3 separate regions of the Homo sapiens genome follow, and all the other regions are linked to region 1. The links are contacts of gene promoters, found by promoter capture Hi-C in blood cells and fetal thymus (Javierre and others, 2016). All regions are on one chromosome and are shown on one strand. The core of a region is centred on a gene start or on the middle of the fragment in contact, and the rest is flanking DNA. Distances in the headings are between cores, read along the strand shown. Region 1 holds the start of PLXNA2 (plexin A2). Region 2 has its middle 140 kb from the start of LINC01696. Region 3 overlaps LOC105372896 (a long non-coding RNA gene).

Region 1 (2,700 bases), core at 177-2,676:
TCCCATTTCAACCCCCAGCACTCCTGTGGTGCTCAAACTAAGGGGCTGGACCCCTGCTGGGCGATACACCGCAAAGGGAGCCCCGGGAGATGAAACACTTAGACCCATTCAGTGCCTAGGAATCTCTCCCTGAGCCTTATGGAACCCGCGCAAATGATGTTTTCCCATTCCCCTGATCTCCAGTCCCCGATCGGAAGGGAGAGCCGGCGGCCACCAGGGACCCCGGCACTGGAGTGAACGCCCCCAAATCGATCGCTGGCCAGTGTGGCTTTGGGCTGTCTCGCTGGTGCCACCGAGGCCCTCTTTGGGCTCCAGCTCTCAGGACAGCCTTGCCGCCCCGAGCTCCCCAAAGCCGCAGAGCGCCGGCAGGTGCGCGGTGGAGGCGCGCCGCGGAGCGCTGCTGCCGCCCTCAGCCCGCATTCGGGAAGCCGGCGGGCTGCCGGCCGGGAAGCCCTCGGCGGGAGGCAGCGGCTCCAGTGAGCCTGCGATCGCGCGCACGCCGCGCTCCAGCCCGCGAAAGTGGCCGAGCCCACGCGGGGACTCGCCCGCCGCGGCCAAGCCGGGTCTTCTGGGGCCGGGACCCCAAAGAGGCGGGCGCGGGAGAAGCCGCCACGGGTGTGCGCGCCTGTGGGGAGAGGGCGGAGGGCGCTGCCGACTCCGAGCGCCCGGCCCAGCCGCCGCTTACCCAGCTCGGCGACGTCGGTCTGTCCTTCCGTCCCCGCTCGGTCTACCTCGGCCGCCGCCGGCTGCTGAGGGCGGCGCGAGGCCCCTCTCCCTGCCCGCAGCTCGGAATCAGGGAGACGACCAAATCCACATGGAGTCCAAATTCATTAAAATCCACGTCAAGCCACCAGACACTTATCTGTATTCCTGAAGTCGCTCCTCGGTCTCCGCTCCGCGCGCCCCTCAGTCCTCCGTCGCCCCGCAGCAGCCCGGCTGGGCGCTGTCGCCGGCTCTCAGGGGGCACCCGGAGGCGCCGAGGGGGCGTGTGGGGGCGGCCGGCGGTGTCTCTCCTGAGGAAGAAGCAGAGCCCCGGCTGTCTTCAGATTTTTCCAGCGCGACTTTCCGGGCTCCTCTGACATCAGCAATCCCGGCGCTTCCTTCCCTTCTTGCTCTCCGGTTCGTTCACAGTCCCATTTCCTCCGGGAGCCTGGCTTTCCAGATCTATTTCGAGGTTTGCTCCGCTGGCTGCGGCGCTCGCACGCCCTACCGCTCCCAAGCTCTCGGGGTCTCTCTCCGGATCGCTCGCCCTCTCGGCTGAAAAATTCCCAGCAACTGCCCTCCGCCGCCCTCCCGCTCCAGTCTGGCGCGGATGCCGCTCCTCCCGGCAGCTCTGGCTCCCGCGGTGGCGGCGGCGGCGGCGGCGGCGGCGGCGGCGGAGGAGCCCTGAGCGCCGGCCTCCCTATTTCACCATGCAGCTCATTATCATAGAGGCCGCGCGCGTTAACCCCCTCCCCGCCGGCCGCGTCCGCCCGGGCTGGGGCCGCGCCCGCTGCTGGCACCGCCCGCCACCGCCAGCACCCTGCCCCCTCCCCCGCCCGCGCGGACTTCCTCCTCCGCAAGCTGTCAACAAAGGAGAAGCAGGTTTGGCATCCGGAGGCCGCTCGGCTGCCTGTCCTGCGCCCAGCTCAGCCCGGACCCATCGGCCACCTTAAGTAGCCAAGGGGGCAAGGAAAATGCTGCCAGGGCCCGGGAATTCGAGTCGGGCCTTGCGAGCCCAGCTGGCTTGGCCCCCGGGGGAATAGAAGGTCTAGCGTTGGGGTTAGGGGGGAGCTCAGAACACAGGAAGAGTGGGTGAGGGCAGTAGGGACAGGGAATCCCCCCCATTCGCATCACCTGTCACCGCACACATCCTGCACACCTCCCTCTTCATCTGTAATTTGAGTGAGGGGTGAGTGGGGAGGAACGGGGCTTGTCTGGTAGGGTTGAGACTAGAGTCTTGGAATTTGTGGGAGCAAATTTCCTCTTCTTGTAAATTAAAAAAAGAAAAAGGCCAACAAGCTGTCAAATAAGGCTTGAAGTTGTTGTTATTATTATTATTGCAATGAGAAGATGAACCTTGCTCTGAATTGAATCTCAAACTTCCAGCCCTGATAGGGATCCTGGGCATCTGGTAAGTCCCGACTTGCATGGGGGCATTGGGGACGGGAGAAGAGCTTTCTATATCCAATTCAGAGAATCTTTCTGGCAGGGTAATCAGAGGGGTGGCAATAAGATAACTTATTTTAATAACCTAAGGTGAGAGGTTTCGGGATTCTGGATGACAATGTCTCGGTGCCCTCAAGGCCACTGATTCCTCGCCACACAGTCTCAGTAACTCCGCAGCCTCTAGACACGGCTTTCCGGAAGCGGCCTGCAAGCTGGACCCCAGCGAGTTCGCAGGATCTGCGTAGTCCCTGCTCGCGATTAGAGCGCACACGAGTTTACTCCTGTCCAAGTATTCTGATAAGCTTCCTCTACTGCCCTCTCGTGGCCACAGTCCTCAGTGGTATAAATCTAAAAAACAACAAAAATCACTGCGAATACCTAAAAGCAATTGCACCAAATTCTTAGAGCAGTAGCGGCAGAAGAAACGAAGGGAGGGAAGGATGAAGAAAGGGAGCCGGAGAAAAGAGAGAGAGAGAGGAAGAAGAAAAGGAAATCTAGACTAACCAGTCATCTCGAACAATCGCACATTCAACACAGGACTGGGGGATCTAG
Region 2 (2,700 bases), core at 183-2,682, 950 kb after region 1:
CATGCAAGAATACAGATGAACAGACATTGTCCTAGCAGCATGTGTTTTATGAAAAAGTACCGAGTCCCATTTTGGTCAGAAAGGTCATCAATCCTGTTGCTGGTTTTAGCATGGACAAGTGTGCTAGGATCCCCCAGAGAGAAGCGGCCACTTGGAAGTAAGCATGGCCCTTAGGAGGTGTGGCTAGATATTCAAGTGCTGGACCTCATGCCAAGAATGCACTGCTTCTTTCAAATTACATCCCTAAAACCAGTCACATCTTTCCAAATCTAATATAACATTTGCACCTAAATTCAAATACAACTCTTTCTTACAGTTGAATGAATCACTTTGTGCCTTGGTTTTTTCACTTAAAAATACTGAAAAGAGGCCAGGTGTGGCAGCTCATGCCTGTAATCCCAGCACTTTGGGAAGCTGAGATGGGCGGCTCACTTGAGGTCAGGAGTTTGAGACCAGCCTAGCCAACATGGTGAAACCCATCTCTACTTAAAAAAATTAGCCAGGCATGGTGGCAGCTGCCTGTAATCCCTGCTACTTGGAAGGCTGAGGCATGAGAATCACTTGAACCTGGGAGGTGGAGGTTGCAGTGAGTCAAGATCGCGCCACTGCATTCCAGCCTGGATGGCAGAGCAAGACTCTGTCTCAAAAATATAGATAGATAGATAGATGATAGATGATAGATAGATAGATAGATAGATAGATAGATAGATAATAGCATCTGCTTCTTAATGTTACTATGATGATTAAATGAGATTAGAATAGTGCTTGGCATACAGTAAAAACTCATTAAATGCTGTCTAGTGTTATTGTCGTTGCTGTTGTTATAAGTTAAAATCCACAAGCTTTAACTTAGAGTAGAATTTGGAAATTGGAAAAAGTAATTTCAAGGCCCAAGTTTCACCAGAAAGGAACTTCCCTGAGAAACCCTTATCAATACACATCCAAGTAAGTGAAGGAATGCAGTATTATATCTTATTTGGCAGAACGTTTTCCTTCTGGGTCTATTTCACTCATTTATAGCCCCAATGAGAGAATGCTGATTGGGTTGCAGGGAAAGTTGGGTAAAGTTTTCATAGCCTAGAATATTCTTGATAATAACTAGAATTTATCCAAGAAATTAAAATATAAGATCATCCACAGGTTATATATCAGTAATCAAAAGTGAGTATATTATTCTCACTCGGTTTGCTAATGGTTGAAATTGCTCAGCGGGGTAGTGGAATAGTAGAGACCAGATGCTAAGATTCTCTGGTCCTGGGGAAGCAGGTTTTCCATAGGGTCTCCATAGCACAGGTCACGGTGACATTTACCATAACTGGCAACTGGTGCACAGCTCCATAGTAAACATGGAAATGACTTCACTGTAACTAACTTGCTAGCTCCATGTTTTAAGAATTGTGCAAGAATCACTCATCTGCATAGAGAGTACTGATGGTTACACAGCATGTATTTAATGCCAGTGAACTGTACACTTACAAGTGGTTACAATGACAGATATGTCTATCTTGCCACAATAAAAAAATAAAGTTGCAAATAAAAAATAAACAAAAATAAGCACCACCCCGTCTTTAGCCCAGAAGATAGGACATCGTAATACATCTACCCACCAAATGGTAGGACAAAATAGGTAGTAAGTCCACGGGTGAGAAAGTTGACTTGAGGAGAGGAAAACTAGCCTATGAATCACATCTAATTAATTTCAGAGAGTATCAGCTGGTATTCAAATATGTACAGCCTCTTATGTATGCTGGGATGGAAAACTAACAAACAGGAAAGAATGTGTCTCCATAGTTTAGCAAGGTAGCCAAGAAGCCGAAATAGATTCTGCCCGTAAAATGCTATTAGAAATCTACTCAATTAAGGCAACCCCTTACTGTGAGGCCCAATTTCTTTGGCCACATTTTTCACTCTATATGGGTGAGGTTGAGTAAGGACGCCAGCCCAAGTTTATGGGTCTTCAAGTCTTCTTTTAAGAAGGCTTTTAATCCCTCTTTTCAGGGAGGCTGGTCTCGCCAGGAATGGCAAGCTTGCCAGGAACCTACGGTCTTTGGCGCCACTCACAACACTGCTAACTGCTGCTGTCACCACTCTTGTAGGGGGTGGTCTCCTGCACGGCGCCTGCTGCGCCCTCTAGTGTCATCAACGGTCTTGTGCAGTTCTTTGTGGGAAAGGGAACAAGGCTTAGAGTTATTCAAAGCCTAACCTCCAGCGATTTTCCTTTCTGGACTCCTTGGTTCATAGAGAGCGCCCTCAGGGGTCATGGCAGAGGGGAGCCCTGGGTATCCTGTGTATCCGTGTGTATACCCAGGAATTCGGGTCACTTAAAATTCTTGCATTCCTCTTCATTCATTTTCCAGTGAAGTTCAACAGCACACATACAATAGCAATTCTAGAAACTATTCTGGACAGATAGGTCTCCAGGGTGCAGAGGCTAAACAGACACTAACAACAACTATGGCAGAGCCATGTTGAGGCTCACAGCCCTGTTTTTTCCCCCTAAGCCTATGTCTAGACTGTACATCCCAGCCAGCCTTGCAGTTAGCTATGACCAGTAATTGAATTCTAATCCATGTGTAAAAAGCCATATATAAAGAAACAATGAATTTGTTTAGGCTCTTAAAAACTCCCACACTTCATCCTCCTTTTTTTTTTCCTCATATGCTAGCTGAATGAAAAAGATTTCAAGTTCCTGGAGGACAG
Region 3 (2,700 bases), core at 70-2,569, 970 kb after region 1:
CATGGTAGATTAAACTTTAGTCTCTTTGTCATCACTCAGGGGATATGGGGGCTTGTAAGGAAGACCAGATAAGACATAGACCACGTTTGCTGAATATGAGTATATATAAGGAATTCAGGCAACGATTCATTAGACAACTTTGCCTATCCCCTACAGAGGCTAAATGTATCCTGACCTCTCTGTTTCTGTGGCTCTAATGCACCTGTAGAATTTTAATCCTGTCCATCTAACTCTTGCTTACCCTTTGTGTCCTCATCACAGCTCATCTCATCCAGGAGTTGTCCCTGAGTCCTCCAGCCTTCATAGGTGCCATACTTCATTTGTTTCTTCCTTCATCTGTGTGTCCATTTATCAAGCCCAGATCAAATGTTCCTATGGATCAAGCACTACGGTTACAAATATGGCTATAGCACAAGGCATTTGCAAATGTCTTCAGAATCTTGCAGCACCTAGAAACTTTGATCATTAGCTCTTAGGTACATACAGTTGCTGATGTTTTGCACAAAGGTGACCCTTAATAAACATTGATTGAATGAATGAAGAACAACTTAATCTTGGATTCTTGTCCATCCTCTTCCTCTGTTTGTTCTAGAAAACAAAAGCAGGGCTGCAGCAGCACATGCTTTCATGAGGGCAGGGGATGATAAGCTTCTAAATGGTTTCTCAGGTTCCAGTGGGTACCACTAAGTGAACATCTGCAAGTTCTTCTCTCTGCTTCCCAGGGTCATGCAGTGTGGTGATACTGCTGTAGAGGGAGTTATCATAGCATAAAATAACAGGTTTAGTGGCTTGGAACCTCTACCTTTTAGCTGTTTGTTGTTGTTGTTGTTGCTGTTATTGCTACTCAGCTCAGGGAAATGAGAAAGAGAAGGACACATTTCACATGATTCCTCCTTCCTGGTCTTTAACAAGTTTAGCAGTCTACCACTAAGACCTGCTGATTCATTCTTTGGAAGAAAAATAATCTCTTATTTTTTCTTCTTCCTCTATATTCCTGTAGTCACCAGGTAGATCCAGATCCTCACCCTCAGAAATATCCGTCGATGTTCCCCAGCCTGCCATTTAGTTAAAACTCCCCTCACTCTGAGGTACACCCTCCCTTCTGGCTCACTGACATTCTTAATCATTTTCATCCCAATAGACAGAACAGTCCTGGCACCAAGTAAGCATGTAATAAATAATTATTGTATAATCAGGCACATTTCACCCTTATCTAACATGTCAAGTCTAAATTACCCCACCTGGAATTCAAGAAATTTTATACTCAGCCCCCTTGAGTTTCCTCTCTAACTGCTTTGTAGCTGACCCCTCTAATCTAGGACTCCAGATCCCTCATCACTGTCCATCAGGGCCCAGGATGATTCTGACCTTAGGCAGAAGACTCTCTATCCAGGCATCCCAACATTTGCCCTCATTCCCTCTTTCTTCAACCATCTTAATTCTATCCATGCTTTCATTGATCTGAAGAGGCTCTCAACGAATATCCATGCTGTGCAGTTCAGTTCCACTTCTTATAAGAAGCCCTCTGACTATGCCTGTGTGGGGCTCATTCCTGCTTGCCTGCAACACTGTCTTCCATTGGTTTACTTGTATGGATCTCTCACGTGGCTACTCAAATGTCACCCCTGCTACTGTAAAAGTTCTCCAAAGCCAGGGGCTATTTTACTTTCTCTTTTCATCTCCTTTTTACTTTTCTATCTTTTAATATGGTTTTTCCTTTTATTAATATATAATATTTTATGTATTTATGGGGTATATGTGTTTTTTACATGCATAGAATGTGTAATGATTGTGTTCTAGCTACTTTGAAATACATAATAGGTTGTTGCTAACTACAGTCACCCTAATCGACTGTTTAATATTGAAATTTTTTTTCTTCTATCTCACTGTAAGTTTGCACTCAATCACCAACCTTCTTTGTTTCTTCATCCTATCTTCACAACCTTCTCAGCCGCTTGTATCTACCATTCTATTCTCCATCTCCATGTGATCAAGCTTTTTAGGTCCTACATATGAGTGAGAACATGTACAATTTGTGTTTTTGTGCCTGGGTTTTTTTTACTTAACAAAGTGACCTCTAGTTCTATCCATGTTGCTGCAAATAACATGATTCCATTCTTTTTATGGGTGAATAGCATTTTATTATGTATATATGCTACATTTTTATTATCCATTTGTCCACCAATGGACACTTAGATTGATTCCATGTCCTTGCTATTGTGAATAGTGCTGCAATAAACATGTAAGTACATATATCCCTTTGATATATTGATTTCTTTTCCTTTGGATGGCTCTCCACTAATGGGATTACTGAATCATATGGTAGTTTTATTTTTAGTTTTTTGAGGTGTCTCCATACTGTTTTCCGCAGTGATTGAACTAATTCATATTAACAACAAAAATGTATAAGAGTTCTCTTTTTTCCACATCCTCGCCAGCATCTGGTATTTTTCTGTCTTTTTAATGATAGCCATTCTATTTGGGGTAGGATGATATCACATTGTGGTTTTGATTTGAATTTCCCTGTTGCATAGTGATGTTGAGGATTTTCTTCACGTACCTGTTGTCTATTTATGTTCTTTGCCCACTTTTTAATAGGATCTTTTTTTCACTGTTGATTGAGTTGTTTGAGTTCCTTATGAATTCTCAATATTAGTTCCTTGTTGGATGAATAGTTTGCAAATATTTTCTTCCATTCAA

What was found. The method cuts DNA at HindIII sites, captures the fragments that hold promoters and counts their contacts. A CHiCAGO score of 5 or more calls a contact.
Region 2: a contact is called between a fragment that was not itself captured here and the fragment with the promoter of PLXNA2 in region 1, in 1 of 17 cell types (endothelial precursors). The highest score is 5.2, in endothelial precursors.
Region 3: a fragment that was not itself captured here is called in contact with the fragment with the promoter of PLXNA2 in region 1 in 1 of 17 cell types (endothelial precursors); the score reaches 6.4 in endothelial precursors.

Annotation. Positions count from the first base shown.
Region 1 is chr1:208,242,958-208,245,657 of GRCh38, forward strand. It overlaps PLXNA2 (plexin A2), which reads right to left and starts at 1,427. Exons shown (of 32, transcript NM_025179.4): 1 at 686-1,427. RefSeq lists enhancers at 1-466, 467-966 and a silencer at 1,485-1,544. The HindIII fragment of the contact is 7,265 bases long and covers 1-2,448 here.
Region 2 is chr1:209,188,694-209,191,393 of GRCh38, forward strand. No RefSeq gene overlaps it. Among named protein-coding and RNA genes, the nearest start is that of LINC01696, 140 kb to the right of the region's middle. RefSeq lists an enhancer at 1,902-2,011. The HindIII fragment of the contact is 1,184 bases long and covers 841-2,024 here.
Region 3 is chr1:209,211,515-209,214,214 of GRCh38, forward strand. It overlaps LOC105372896 (a long non-coding RNA gene), which reads right to left. Exons shown (of 5, transcript XR_922530.4): 5 at 1-372. Among named protein-coding and RNA genes, the nearest start is that of LINC01696, 110 kb to the right of the region's middle. The HindIII fragment of the contact is 1,347 bases long and covers 647-1,993 here.